Regions from separate parts of the Homo sapiens genome. Here region 2 is linked to region 1. The links are contacts of gene promoters, found by promoter capture Hi-C in human tissues and cell types (Jung and others, 2019). All regions are on one chromosome and are shown on one strand. The core of a region is centred on a gene start or on the middle of the fragment in contact, and the rest is flanking DNA. Distances in the headings are between cores, read along the strand shown.

Region 1 (3,625 bases), core at 844-3,343:
GAGGGCTGTTCCACAGGGTATGGAACTATACTATTTGGCATGCTATGTTTATGAAAAAAGCAGGCTCCAAGTTCAAGAGCAAGTTCTCCTACAGGTGTAGGTGGTTGGAATGTAGATAGTGAACAACTGGCAAGCAGCTTTAAGTGGCGGCTCCTAGATTGAAACTCAGGTCTAACTGTAGTTAAAATCATTGCTTTCTCAAGCATATCCTACTAATGTGAATCTTCCCCAGGTGTTCCATGATTGAGTGAAATTATAGACTGAGACCACAGGTCTTTTGGAATAGCACTTCCCTATACCCTCTCCAGGGCAAGATAAGACTCTAAGAATTAGTGGTAGGCCATGTGCAGTGGCTCACACCTGCAATCCCAGCACTCTGGGAGGCCGAGGTGGTTGGATCACTTGAGGTCAGGAGTTTGAGACCAGCCTGGCCAATATAGTGAAACCCCATCTTTACTAAATAAAAATACAAAAATTAGCCAGGCGTGGTGGACATGCCTGTAGTCCCAGTTACTTGGGAGGCTGAGGCAGAATAATCTCTTGAACCTGGGAGGTAGAGGCTGCAATGAGCCGAGATCACACCACTGCACTCCAGCCTGGGAGACAGAGAAAGACTCCATCTCAAAAAGAAAAAAAAAAAGAATTAATGGTAAACCTAAATGCCCATTAAGAGACAAATGGATAAGGGAAATGTATAGATATACACACAATGAAATATTATTCAGCCTTATAAGAGAAGGGAATCCTGTCATTTGCAGTAGAACCCAGAGAACATTATGCTAAGTGAAATAAGCCAGGCACAAAAGGGAAATTATTGCATTATTTCACTTATAGGTGGGATTTTGTTTTAAAAAAGACTTCAAATGCACAGAGCTAGAGAATGAAACAGTGAATACCACTAGTGGGAAGCAGGGAAGAGGAAAAGGGGTGATATAGGTCAAAGGATACAAAATAGTAGACACGTAGGATACATAAATCTACAACAGGGTCCCTAACCTTTTCGGCACCAGGGACAAGTTTTGTGGAATACAATTTTTCCATGGGCAGTGGGGGTAGGTGGATGGTTTTGGAATGAAACTGTTCCACCTCAGATCATCAGGCATTAGATTCTCATAAGGAGTGGCGCAACCTAGATCCCTCGCATGTGCAGTTCACAATAGGAGGCGGAGCTCAGTCTGTAAAGCTTGCTCACCGGCTGCTCACCTCCTGCTGTGCAGCTTGGTTCCTAACAGGCCACGGACCAGTACCAGTCCATGCTGGGGAGTTTGGGACCCCTGGTCTAGAGAGCAAACGTGCAAAATGAGGACTAAAGTTAATAAAATTGTATCATATTAGGAATTTTTGTTAAATAAGTTGATTTTAGCTGTTCTTGTCATACACACAAAAAAGTAATTACGGGTGAGATGATACATATATTATATTGGCCTCCCTACTGTAACCATTTTTCTGTGTATATGTATCTCATAATATCATGTTGTAAACCTCAAATATACAGAATGAATAAAACAATTAGCTGTCAATTTGGCCTTAATGTTCCATGTTAAAGCCAAATGTCTATGTTTGTAATCAGCTAAATTTTATATTGTGCAGAAGCCCTGAATTTCACGGATGCCCCATATTTCATGGATGCCCCGTTCAGTTCATAAGCTCTTGTTTACATGATTTGTGCATGATCCAAATGTGGAAAGAAAATGAGTGGGCAGCCTATTCTGGGTATCAAGCAAAGAGCACAGGCACAGACCATGTGCAATAAGCAGCCTTAGGCAAAACTGAACCAAGAGTGGTTTCATACAGGTATTCCTCTAAGTCTTTAATTTTTTACTTATTCCTTTCCCCTTTTTAATGTGATAGACACCTAATCACCTTCTGCTGCCTTCCCAACCTCAACTTTGGTGTTCTTTGGCAGATAGTGACTTCGGTGTTCTTTGGCAGATAGCCTACAAATGAAATTTCAAAGGCTAAGCATATAATGTTTGCTCACTTGATGTAAGCAACAGAGAACTAAATCTGAACTTTGGCAAAAGTCTATTAATAATTGACAAATAACAGAACAGTGAGGATGTAGAAAGCAATACATTAAAAAAAAAAAAACAACGAACTCCATCTGGGATAGCAATAACCTGTGAAAATGCTCCCCCGGCTAATTTGTATCAATGATTATGAACAACATGCTAAATCAGTACTTCCAAAGTCTATATATGACTATTACAGGTCTGGGGCAAATGATGAAGAAACTTTGGCTGATAATATTGCAGCATTTTCCAGGTAAGAAAATTTATTTTTTAAAATCATGTTTTAAAATTACACAAAGACCGTACCAAAATAAGATCTCCTAGTTTTACGTTGGTGGTGTGTAATTATTTGTTCAGATTTGTGCTTAGTAGAGAGGGAAAAGTTCTTGGGGCTGTAAGAAATCTTGGGCCTTTAAATTGTTAAAAAATATTCCAAGCCTGTGAATCTTGAGGAACTGACTGCAAAAGCCAAACCTATGTTACTTCACTTGGAAATATGACAACAATTAATTTAACTACATGTAAAAATAGCGATAAATTCGGATGACTTTTCTTTTTCTTAGTATGACAGTAAATGCTTATGTTCATGGTGTAGGAAACAGCATTAAATGCCAGATAACCATCTTATCCGGATGAACCAGACTGGATTGTTGGCTCAAATGTTTTCTTCCTGCTGGCTTTTCGTGTTATCATTCATTTTGATTACTGTTGTCTAAACTTTCACTTTAGATTTCAATTTGTCTATGCAGCATTAATCTTTCAACTTTGCTGTTTCATCTCTCCTTCAAAGCACTTCATCTCTCTTCCCAAATTAGTTTTCCTTTGACTTTCATATTTCAAAGCACAAGATGGTGGGTGACATGGTTTATGTTTTCTGTTTGTAATAAAAACAAGAAATAAAATCATTTCAAAGGGTTTTTTTTTATAGCAGTTACAAAAATGGTTTATTTGCTGGAGCAAGAGAGGAGTGCCTTCACTACACTACACTCAGTCTCATCCATCTAACATTATGGCTGTTAGTAAAGGCAATCGGTATTGTGGGTACTCATTGATGGTGATAAAGACAAAAAGGCAGAAAATATGCAGGGGGAGAGAATTAGCCTTCCTCCCTGATTTCTTCTTTAGTCTACAACAAAATCACTCAAAATCAGTTTTCCATATTTAAATTAGGAGAAATAAAATTATCCTGGCCAAGGTGGTCTCTGGTAGGCAGCACTGATTCACCCACAAATCCATGTAGAAGACTGAAAATGGCAATGGGGTGAAGGATACGGCCTCTCCCCAACCCTTTCAAGCCTTGACTTTGTCTCAGGTTTTGCCTGGAACCCAAATGAGCTCAACAAATGCCAGGGAAGTCATGGGAAGGGAAGTTGACTGAGAGTAGAGGGGCTTAAAATTCTGCATCATTATTTACTATTTTGGACTCATTTAAAAGTTTCTGCTCTTGGAAGATGCCCCTTCTTGGGCCGATATTAACTTTGTCCACCAAAATTTGCCTATGAGTGGTCTCTTGAAAACACTTTAACCCAAATAGGTTATTACAACCAAGGAAATTTCAGACCCTTGACAGATTTATAGAGTTAGTGTCTCAGCATTGCTAGACCTCCAATGCT
Region 2 (3,625 bases), core at 831-3,330, 72 kb before region 1:
GCAAGGCCATAACTATAATGCAGGCCTGAGCTTTGCAGTTTCTGATCTGCAGTTCCCAGTTCTCCTGGGGAGCCTGGAGGAAGGCACAGGGCCTGGTTGACTCTTGCTTTGGCCCTCAGCTAGCCAGCACCCTGACTCACATGAGGGTAGGCCTTGTTCGTGCTGGATTCTAAGGCCCATCCAAGCTTTTACCATCTCTCTAGTTTCTGCAAGTAAAGAACATTTTTACTGTATACTCATTCCTGACACTGTTCACCACTTAAACAGGTGCCCTGCCTTCCCATCATCGCAATGCCCCAGGAAAATTCTTTCTCACTATGCTTTGGTTGTGTCTTGCATGGTCCTATCACAACCAGTAATTACACATTTATTGATATGCTTTTGTACTAGGTCTTTCTTTGACTACCTCTATTATAAGCTTTTAAGTAAAGGAACAAGGTTATTTTTTTCCTTCCCTGTTTATCTCCAAAGCTTTAATAACTAACAAGTAGTTTGTGTTCAAAAAATACTTTGTGACTAGGTAAATGAGTGAATAATAGATTAATTGCTCTTTTATCAGGCACTTCTTCAAGCATATCACTGAAGGAGACATCTTTATATATTTTCTGAAGTCTTAAGGATAATTACTATCATCTCCCATTTGTTCACTGATGGAATATTTATTGTGGTGGCCTAGGACCTTCCAGGTTCTGTTCTGTGGTGCAAGTCATGCAGCAGTCACTGCTTTCGTGGAGTGTTAATTCTAGTGAAAGTCATGAATTCCACTTTCTCTAGCAGGTGTCATGATTTTCATAGAGCTGCCAGTTTTTATGTTTCCTCTACCTTTTGTGATAACACGTTCTAGAAATTATTGTCCAAAGAAATAAATTTGAGCATAAGGCTTTCAATTCATGGGTCATTCCACATTTGCCAAAAGGAAGAATAACACTTGATGTAGTTAAGGCATCTTTTGTTGACACTTTGATTTAGTTTCCTTTATTAAGTCATAGAAAGATGAACCTAGTATACCTCTTTCCTCTTCATTGTTGCTGAGTATTCTGAGCATTTTGATCAAAGTTCTACTAAGTGAAAATTGACTGGATCTGTTATTGACTGTCTCATTTCTGCAAAGATAAGAAAAAGTCAGGAGAAAAGAGAGTGTACTGAGAAACACTGGTGAAATTAGAGTCAAGACAGAAGAAGAGTTGTTCATTATTGGTAAATAAAAATTTATCGTTAATAAAATTTCCTTTCTAGGAAATAAATATAAGTAAGTCCTTCTCTGAAATATTTAGCACACCTAATGAAATCTTAAACCAAATTCAGTAAGTTCATGGAATAAAAGATTCAAGGTCCTTCAACCTCGTTCCATCAACAAAACACGGACAACATGGACAACAAAAACATTCTGTTGAACAAAAAACGTGGACAACAAAAACATGCTGTTGAATTTTGTTTCCCAGAAATGGTTAAAAACATTGCACTGACATGTAAGTTGGTGTAATTTACCAGAGCTTTTTGGCTATCTGGAATATATTTCAAATATGTTTATGAAGTTTACTAATTTTACATACCACTGTGACCTGCAAACAAGTCAACAAAAGTTCAGTAGAAAAGATAACAATTTACAGTTTAAATGACTATAATGGAGCTAATTGCTCTTGGAGGCTCTTAAGGATTATGTGTAAGAGACAAAGTTATGGCAGGTCATATCTTTTATAGTTCTTAGGAGAAGATTGCCAGTGTGAACTAGTTTGAAATAAATTTAATGAAGATCATGTTCAATTATTTCTGATGTGTTTAATTTATGCATATATACATAAATTATATATATATGTATCTATGTGTACACAGAGTGAGAGAGGAGCATGAAGGTCACATGACTGATCCTTGCATTCATTTTGTCCCTGGAGATATTTTACTTAGTTTCTAAATTCTTATACAAATTACTGTTCTTTAGATACAAAAGAATATTAAAAACTTTAAAAACTGCAGCAACAATGGACCAGTTCCCATGCTAAAGACTCAGAGCTGGCTTATCTCTACCACTGAAAGAACATCTGGGTGCATTCCAACACAAATCAGCTGTGATTAAATCTGTGAAATAATGGCATTAACAATGCCACAGACCAGTGTATAGCAGCTATGTAGAAATGGCATATCTAAAATTACCTCAGTGGCATATCCGAGGATGCATTATAATTGTATATCTGAAGGTCAGTTTCACCAAAAACCAACTTAGTAATAGCCTATCTAGAGATTAAGTCCTGTATTTTTTAAATTATGAAACATAATTACTGATGCAGCAAATGTGCCTGTGATTTATATGCAAAGAGCGTCCTAGGGAAATAAAGAGGATCTGAAGTTCATTATATTATATTATACTTCAAGATAACTTCCTTATTCTTGTTACTTTCTTATAACTTCTTTCTCCCTCTGAATGTTGAAGTTTTATATTCCTTGACGATTTTTATCAAAGAAATACCTCCATCTGTGTTCTTGCTCTGAGTGGTCTTAAGCACATCTCTATACCTGCTTTGTCTGTTTGGCAGTGAGGCTGTAAGGTCAGATGAGCTAATGCATCGTAAAAGTGTCTTGAACCCCAAGCAGTATTACAAATGAAATTTGTATTAATGGTTGCTCCTATTAAATAAATATGTGCCTGCTTCGTATTTCATCTGATCTCTCAGTAACCTAAGGTAGCTACTGTTATTATCCCATTTTACAGTTGAGGAAACTGAGGCATGGAGAGATTATTAACCTGCCCAGAATATCATGATTAATTCCTGGTTGATCTTTCTGATTGTTATAGCAGAACTCTTATCCAACATCATGGAACGCTTGTTGAAATGTACTTGATAATTCAGAATTCCTTTTTTTCCTAAAGTTTGCCAACTGCCTGAGTCTCATCTGTTAACTTGGATATTTAGAAACTACATAGAAAATAACTTATTTTCTCAGATGAAGAATATGATTTTCATTAAAGTTGATACACTTGTTTATTCAGCAAACATTTATTGAACACCTACTGTATATCAAGAATGTACTTTGCCTTGGAAATACAGAGACACGAAGGTTTAAAAAAATCTACATTCAAAGATGTCAGCAGATTATTTTGTTGTTCCTGTCTTCTGGATCTCAGGATTTGGACAGTGAGCTGTAATGGAAAGATTAATGATGTTTTAGCATGATCTTGGAATTAGCTATATAGTAGTCTTTTCTAGAGATGGTGAACAACTGTGCTTGCTAAGTCTTGCTGCTTCTGGGGCCTGTCTGGAGAAAGTAATGAATGCTTTGGCTTTGGGTAGTCCATTCTCTTCTGGGTTCTGCCTAATTTTCAGTACTTTTTGTGAAATAAATGCATTCCTTCCCCTAGTCTTCGCTTTTTAACCCCTGACTCATCTTTTATAATGCGAAAGATCAAAATCTTGCCCAATTTCAGTTTTTGTTTTTTGTTTTGTTATTCAGCAAAGTTGGTTTATATGTGTCATTGCATTGATTTTTTTTTTTAATGATACTTACCAGCATGCTTTTGCACAGTTCAGAATTTTGAAGGGATTTGTAAATGATGACCTGACAGGCAACTTTGAGCCTAAATCTTGTTACAGGATTTGATCAGTTTTGTACTTTTCCCCTTACTTTGTTT

What was found. The method cuts DNA at HindIII sites, captures the fragments that hold promoters and counts their contacts. A contact is called where the count stands out against the background at its distance.
Region 2: a contact is called between a fragment that was not itself captured here and the fragment with the promoter of HAO1 in region 1, in 4 of the 25 tissues and cell types used here (hippocampus, liver, mesendoderm cells and 1 more).

What each region holds. Positions count from the first base shown.
Region 1 is chr20:7,938,926-7,942,550 of GRCh38, reverse strand. HAO1 (hydroxyacid oxidase 1) reads left to right here and starts at 2,093. Exons shown (of 8, transcript NM_017545.3): 1 at 2,093-2,265. The coding sequence starts at 2,129. The HindIII fragment of the contact is 11,188 bases long and covers 1-3,625 here.
Region 2 is chr20:8,011,340-8,014,964 of GRCh38, reverse strand. All of the region lies in intron 1 of TMX4 (thioredoxin related transmembrane protein 4), which reads left to right. Among named protein-coding and RNA genes, the nearest start is that of TMX4, 6.6 kb to the left of the region's middle. The HindIII fragment of the contact is 6,626 bases long and covers 1-3,625 here.